2 separate regions of the Homo sapiens genome follow, and region 1 is linked to region 2. Evidence: promoter capture Hi-C in 16 types of primary human blood cells and fetal thymus (Javierre and others, 2016). All regions are on one chromosome and are shown on one strand. Each heading gives the region's core, a stretch centred on a gene start or on the middle of the fragment in contact. The rest is flanking DNA. Distances are from core to core; before and after follow the strand shown. Region 1 holds the start of MPV17 (mitochondrial inner membrane protein MPV17). Region 2 holds the start of KHK (ketohexokinase).

Evidence for each region. The method cuts DNA at HindIII sites, captures the fragments that hold promoters and counts their contacts. A CHiCAGO score of 5 or more calls a contact.
Region 1: a contact is called between a fragment that was not itself captured here and the fragment with the promoter of KHK in region 2, in 14 of 17 cell types (naive B cells, naive CD4 T cells, naive CD8 T cells and 11 more). The highest score is 11.3, in naive B cells.

Annotation. Positions count from the first base shown.
Region 1 is chr2:27,321,508-27,325,020 of GRCh38, reverse strand. It overlaps MPV17 (mitochondrial inner membrane protein MPV17), which reads left to right and starts at 1,924. Exons shown (of 8, transcript NM_002437.5): 1 at 1,924-1,969; 2 at 2,499-2,573. The coding sequence starts at 2,504. RefSeq lists enhancers at 1,115-2,087, 2,210-2,269, 2,320-2,369, 2,380-2,469, 2,480-2,529. The HindIII fragment of the contact is 4,230 bases long and covers 117-3,513 here.
Region 2 is chr2:27,085,457-27,089,151 of GRCh38, reverse strand. KHK (ketohexokinase) reads right to left here and starts at 2,380. Exons shown (of 8, transcript NM_006488.3): 1 at 1,801-2,380. The coding sequence starts at 1,892. It overlaps EMILIN1 (elastin microfibril interfacer 1), which reads right to left. Exons shown (of 8, transcript NM_007046.4): 8 at 2,749-3,474. The coding sequence ends at 3,137. RefSeq lists enhancers at 2,127-2,186, 3,177-3,396 and silencers at 2,377-2,836, 2,887-3,046. The HindIII fragment of the contact is 6,666 bases long and covers 1,187-3,695 here.

The DNA of each region.
Region 1 (3,513 bases), core at 982-3,481, 240 kb before region 2:
AACCCATGTCAGTGCAAAGAAGCCAAGTGTTGCACTACCCTATTGGGATCCAGCTCACATTGAGCCAGTTTTGTTTTTTGAGCTGTTACGCAAGTGCCTTCTGTCGAAGAGAAGCTTTACTCAATTCTACAGGGCAGCCCCCTTCCTATTTTCAGTGGTAGAAAAGATGAGACCTGGGGATCCACACTTGAGGCTGTAGATTGGTGCTGGCAGCCCTGCTTCTGCAACTGAGTCTCAGCCCTAGTCTTGACCTTGTTCTTTTTCTCTAACAAGCCTTTTCTCTTTCTAACCCTCCCTCCCAATATACCCACTTCATACTATCCATTGTTCATACACTTCTCTACCTTTATTCCTCTTCTCATATTCCTCCCTTCGCCAGAGTGTCTTTTTCCACCATCTTCACCTGAGTTCAATTCATCCTTCAAGGTCCCGGCTCAAATTCCACCTTCACCAAAGAGCTTCCCAGTTTTCTCCAGTAAAAAATAGTTTCCCTCCCTTGTGTTCCCAAGGGGGAAGGGAGGAAAAAGGATAAACAAGCATTAAGCACTTGATCCATTTTAGGCACTTCGCATGTGTCACTTGTATGAGGTAGGTATTGCCATTTTACTTAATGATAAAAGAGTTGGAGAGGGTAAGCTGTCTGTAAAAGGTCAAGGTCATATAACTAGTAAGTGGTGGTGCTGGGGATTTGAACTCAGTCTAACTTCAGAATATAACTTTACAGCCTACCACATTTGGTCTCCTATTACATTTACTTTTGTCAGTTCACTCCTCTAGCATGCTGTTTTGCAAATAGCATTTTAGTTAAATGTTTGTGACATTGACTTCTCTTGCTTCCTTACTCTGTTTCTCCAGGATTTGTGGCAGGAGTCTCCCTGCCTTAATCATAAAGGAATTGAGTAAATTGGGGGTGGAGCTGGGCAGGTGGAGAGCCTGAAAGAGTGTGCCTCCTGACGTGTGGGCTCCCTGGAGATAAGTAAAGCCTGCCAGCCTGACAAGTCCATTGCCAGGGATATTGTAGACATTTCCAACGCTCTAGAAAGGATATTGCTCTATATTCACAGACTCTTAGAATGTTAGAGCTGGAAGGGGATTAAGAAATCACCTAGCTTACTGGTTTTCAAACATGCAGTTGTGGGCCCCGTTAAAAATGGGTCTTTTGAGAAGTATATACTTGGAAAAAAAAGTTGGAGAAGCAGCTGTAGTAATGCTGCCCCTCTCATCCCCACACACAAACATCTGAAAAATCCCTAGAACTGAGGAGCCGAGTTTGGAAAGTCAATAGTGTAACCTCCCTCATTTTACAGATGCAGAGCCTTAACATCAAGTCTAGTCATGACCAAGGCTGCACAGCCCGTTAGTTTGGGAGCCAATACCTAATGTCTTCTGAGGTTCTAATTCCAATGCTTTCTGTGGAAGAATCATACATACGCAGTATTTCTTAAGTGGCTGTTTGCGGCAAAGCACTGAAATAGTTGCTATGAGGACGACAAATATGAACGACCCCAGTTTTACCCACTCATGAGCTCACAGTTGAGGCCAGTGAAGAACCTAGAGACAAAACACGCACTTAACTATAACTTATAGTTCCCTAACTACGATTGCTGAGACAAGGATCGTAGTTATGGCCAGTTATGCGGGGAGGGTGGGCTGAACAATGAGACTACCGGATTGAGAGAGGCCCGGGTCTCGCGCGGAGAGAAGGGGCAGGAGGAGGCAGAGGGTCGAACTTAGGTGAGAAATATGGCTGGCGGGCCCCACACCAGGGTCCGGCACAGTCCAGCTGGAAAAGGGGTCTCTCACAGAGTGGGTGGCCGAGTTAGGCCGCTCTCCACGGGTATTCATGGCTCGGTCCACCCCCATTCCTGTCCTGGCTGCGTAATCCGAAGGACGCTGGGAGGAAGGGGCGGGACTTGTGGCGGAAGTTCCTAGGCCAGCCTGTCACGTGGGAGGGAGGCTCGGCGCTCAGGTGAGTGGCGGGTGATCTGCGGTCTCTGGCTTAAAGCGTCGCAAGCCATGAGTGCCCACAAGGTGTGTGGTCATCCTATATCCGGGCAGTGACGGGCCCTATTTTCGGTTTGGAGCTGGACTCAGGAAGGTTACAAACTGGTTCCAACCAAGTCTGAATCTGGAGACGGACCAAGCTATCTTTTGAGGCACCCAAGCTCTGGGTAGAAGCCAGAGCAAAGCTGTCCTCATGAGTGTCTCCGTCGGGAACGGAGGCTTCCAGGTGGTCTGGCTTCAGGAATGAGGTTGGGGTGGCTGGTGGCTGCTACCAGGAGTCCATAGCTTCCCACAGCCTTTCTCTCTTCCCCAATTGTCTAAGGCGACTCCTGCGACAGGAAGCTGTCTGGGAAGCATCCTTCATGTGGCCTCTGCCCCTTTAAGTCACATTGGAAGTGGGAAGGGGAAGGGAGTGGGCACAAGGGAATGTCAGGCGGCTTCTTAGTCGTGGAGAGGGACGGTGGGGGTGACCCCCTCTCCTCTTGGCTTGACAGGAAGCATGGCACTCTGGCGGGCATACCAGCGGGCCCTGGCCGCTCACCCGTGGAAAGTACAGGTCCTGACAGCTGGTGAGTGTCCCTCTAGGACTTGAGTGGGACCAGGGCAGACTGATTTGGAAGCCAGAGGCTTGCCCCACTGCACCACCCTCACTTCCTGTTTCTATTCGGCTCTCTTGAAGGGTTGGCTGTCTTTCATCCTACACTGTCCCCAGTCTGTTTTGGAGGGTGGTCCCCAAGGCTGTTTTTAAGGGGTATGCGTAGTTGGCCAAGCTGTGCAGTAGGGTTTTAGGATTTCAAAGTCCTCAAAAAGCTGAACAGTCAGCCCTGAAGGATAAAGGCATTGCCCCAGGAGGCCTCAACTTGGAAAACATTTTACCGTATGCAAAGCACTTTCATATACGTTATGGCATAGGGCCCCCACAAAGGTGTGTGAGCTAGGAGGGTTACTTGAGTCCACATTAGATCACACCTAATAAGTGCTGAATCAAGACTCTTACCCCAGTTTTTCTTGGTATTTTTTATTGTGAAACATACAAAAGAATGATTAAGATGTGTATGTACAGTTTAAATGGCATTAAAACTGAACACTCCTGTGTCAGTAATCAGCTTTGAGACCTCTTGAGTGCCTCTCCGTAATTCACCCAAAATTTCCTGAGTTTTGTTTATATCGTTCATTTGCTTTTGTTATCATTTACTGCCTAAATATGTATCTCCAAGGTTAGTATATTGGTATCTGATCACTCCATCCTGATCCATTTGGAGTGATCAGATACCAGTCACTCCAAATGCAGTGATTGAGTACTAACCTCACAGAGGTAATGCAGTGACCTACCTGCATTTGTTACCATCTTCATTTTGCAAGTTAGCTAATGTAAGAGGATGGCATGAAGATAAGTAAGTCTTAGAGGGGGAATGTCAGAAGGCCTTAGAACATTGGGGTGCAAAGAGTGATCACATTAAGATGAGGTCTTGCCCATGTTTAGAGAAGGGGAACAGGATTCTAGTGATG
Region 2 (3,695 bases), core at 1,131-3,630:
TGCAGCTGCCACTGTGCCACCATTTAACTCCGTGGCCTTAAAAAACATCTCCAAATCTTCAGCTTCCTTATCTGTATAAAGGATTTCACTGATCTTTACACAGTTCCCATGGGCTGCTGGGAGGAGAGTATAAAATAATATATGTGATGGTGCTTTGTGGCCCCAAAGCCTGAGGAGTGTCGGGGTCTCTCACCTCAGTTAGCCTGGCAGCCATCAGCACTGTCGTGTCTTTGTGGAGTTCAGTCTTGAACTGCCTCTTATCCAGTTCTTAGCTGCGACAACTGATATAGCCCAGGAGCAATTCTCAGTGTTCTAAGCACTCACTGACTGCACCAAGAGAAAGCTAGTGTCCCGCCCCACAGAAATGCCTTCACAGCATTACAGTGTAATGGTGGGGCCCTTATCAAGAGGAAATACAAGAACCAATAAGCCGGGTGTGGTGGCTCATGCCTGTAATCCCAGCACTTTGGGGGACTGAGACGGGCAGATCACTTGAGATTAGAAGTTTGAGACCAGCATGGCCAACATGTCTTTACAAAGAAAAGCCCTGTCTCTACAAAAGAAAAAAAAAATTAGTGGGGCATGGTGGCGTATGCCTATAATCCCAGCTACCCAGGAGGTTGAGGCAGGAGAATCGCTTGAATCCAGGAGGCGGAGGTTGCAGTGAGCCAAGATCATGCCACTGCATTCCAGCCTGGGCAACAGAGCGAGACTCTGTCTCAAAAAGAAAAAGAACCAACAAATCGGCTGGGTGCAGTGGCTCATGCCTGTAATCCCAGTACTTTGAGAGGCCAAAGCAGGAGGACTGCTTGAGCCCAGGAGCTCAAGACCACTCTGATCAGTATAGTGAGAACCCGTCCCTTATACAAAATTTAAAATACAGCTGGGATGGTGACGTGCATGTGTGGTCCCAGCTACTCAGGAGGCTGAGGTGGGAGGATCACTTGAGTCTGGAGGTCAAGGCTGCAGTGAGCATGGTTGCACCACTGCACTCCAGCCTGGACGACAGAATGAGACCCTGTCTCAAAAAAAAAAAAAAAAAAAAAAAAAAAGAACCAACAACTGACTCTTCAGTTTCTAGCAGACAACTGAGAAAGATATTTCCCACTACTAAACGGTGTTCATTGACCTCTGTGAAAAGGACTTCTGGTAAACTCCTCTTGGAATTTAGCACCAGGAAAAAGCTTGCCAGGGCTCATGAACCAGCTCTATCCATACATAACCCATGGCATCTCATGTTTGCCTCCAGTGCCAGCAAGCCCTGAGCTATAGTTGAAGCTCAAATACCATGGTCTTAAATGTTCTCCAACAGTTTAACTGTACATACTTTTTACTGTAAGCTACCTCAAATCTTTCTCAGAAATAGGTGCGAGATATGTGGATAAATAAGTTAGAAGTAAATGTTGATGAGAGGCAAGTGCATAGGCTTGGGGTTTAAAAAGAAACAGCAGAAGCAGGTAGCTGTGTGCCCCTGGATAAGCCCCTTGGTCTCTGAATCTATACTTATCAGTAAAATGGGGATCCTGATGCCTGACACCTGACACCTGATGCCTGAGTTGAAATGGAAATTGGCTAACACGATGCTATTAAATCCTGGGTCTTCTTATTAAAGGCCTCAATTCCTTCCTCTCTTCTGTCATGCTGGGAGCCCCCCCAGGATTCCCGGGTAGAGGGCGCGGGTCCGGCCTTGAAGCCGGGTTCTCAGGGCCTCACTGCGGGGTCTCTGCAGCCTCGGTCGCTGGCACAAATGCTGGACTGCAGCAGCCCCTGGGGTCCCCTAGGGGACCTGGGCGCCCCTACCTTATCTCCGAGTCCTCCTTAGGGTACTTGTCCACCAGGCTGATGACGTCCAGCACCACTAGCCCCACGCACAGGATCTGCTTCTCTTCCATGAGGCTACTCCCAGAGCTTCCTGCCCGCCCGGCTGACGGGGTTCCTCCCGGCCTCTGCCTCTTATCCAGGAGGATGGTGTCCCCGCTCCCAGCTGCCCTGGCTCCTCCTCCGCGTGGGAGCTCCTCCTCCAGGGAGCCACCTGCAGCGGCCAGGGGTGCAGGGAACGAAAGGAGCAGGGCCCTTCCTCGCGACACCCGAAGACCCGAGCGGGTCTAGGAAAGCCAACCCAGAGGTCTTGGTCCCCGGTCTTCCCGTAGCAGGTTGCCTGGGCCTGCAGATGGCAACGCCTCCCACTTCTCAGCCTTAGTTTCCTCGCTTGTCAGATGGACTCACAGCTGATGCAAACCTTTTTAAAGCGCGGCTAAGCGATCTCGAGAATGCAAAGAGAAAATGCGCTACTTGCCCCGCACTCTCCTGCACCTGCGTCTCCGACTCCCGACCCGGGACACGCGAGGTACAGCTGGGCCTCGCATCTGCAGCCCTGCCTGAAGCCCGCGGTCGCGGCGGCCCCGCCCCGCCCCGCCCCGCCCCGCCCCGGTTAGTCCCAGCCGAGGCCACGCCTCCGCCGCGGAGGAGCAGGACCCGCCGGGTGGGCCGCAGCCTCACGTGGCGGGAACGCAGAGCGCCCCCTGGCGGACGCCGGCGAAACGGGCGTGACACGGGGGAGACGTCGCAGGAGCCGGGCGGGCGCCGCTTGCTGCCTGAGCCAACCCCGAGCCGCCCCGAGCCGGGCGGAGGCGGCGAACGCAGTGCGGAACCCGGGGTCCTCTCCGGAGGCCGTCGTCTCTCCCGCCCCGTGCCCTGTGCACGCCCGGCAGCCCCCGACCCCGTACCGTAGCAGAACGGTTCGTTTAGTTTTTTTTAGAAAAACCAAGTGTCTTTATTCCTCGATCGTTTAGTATGGCGGTGGGCGGCGCCCGCGCGGGGGAGCCTGGAGCCCAGGGAATCGACCTGGAGGGCCAGTGGAGGGAGCGGAGGGTGCGAGGATCGGCTCCTCCGCAGGCCGGCCCTGGAGGGGTTCTTGGGGGATCGCGCCAGGCCAAAAGTCTGCATGGGCGGCCCCGAGCCTCCCTGAGCCGGCGCGCCCCGGGCGTGGGGAGAGGCCGCTCTGGGCGCGGTGCCGCTGCGGGCCCGGGTGCGGCGCTCGCCCAGGGCTAGGTGCCCCGTCTCAGGCGAGACCCCAGGAGCCCGCCGCCCCCGCTGTCTCTTCAGCCGACGTAGACACGTCGGGCGGGACCCCAGTCTACGCGTGTTCAAGCTCTGGGTCCCCATAGAGCAGGGCCCCGCTGAAGATGGTGAGCGGCTCCTCCGAGTGCGCCAGCTGCCCCATGACCAGGTCGACGCAGACCGTGTCCCCGGCCTGCAGCGGCAGGATGAGGCTGAAGACGCCCAGGGTGCCCGGGCTGGGCTGGCTCTCGGCCACCGGCTTATTCTCCAGGCCCTCAGGCTCGTAGCCACCGGAGTCTACGCGGGCCACGCCCTGGTTGGAGCGGGACAGCACGGCCTCCACTTTCTCGTGCCGGTGCCCAGTCAGCACCGCGCTCAGCAAGTAGCGTCCAGCCAGTGGCGCTGTGAACACGCCTGGGGACAAGGATAGCAGTCAGGGGGGCCAGGGAAGCTCCGGGGAGCGCACCAGAACTCCTGGACTGAGGAGGGACCCTCTGGGTCTTTTCACCTCACTGGAATGTGAGCGGCAGGGAACTGGGGGCTTTGTTCACTATGCATTCCCAGCACTTAAAACAGTGCCTGGGCAGGAGCAGGCCCCAGTAAAGATCTGCTGAATGAATGAATGACTACTTCTT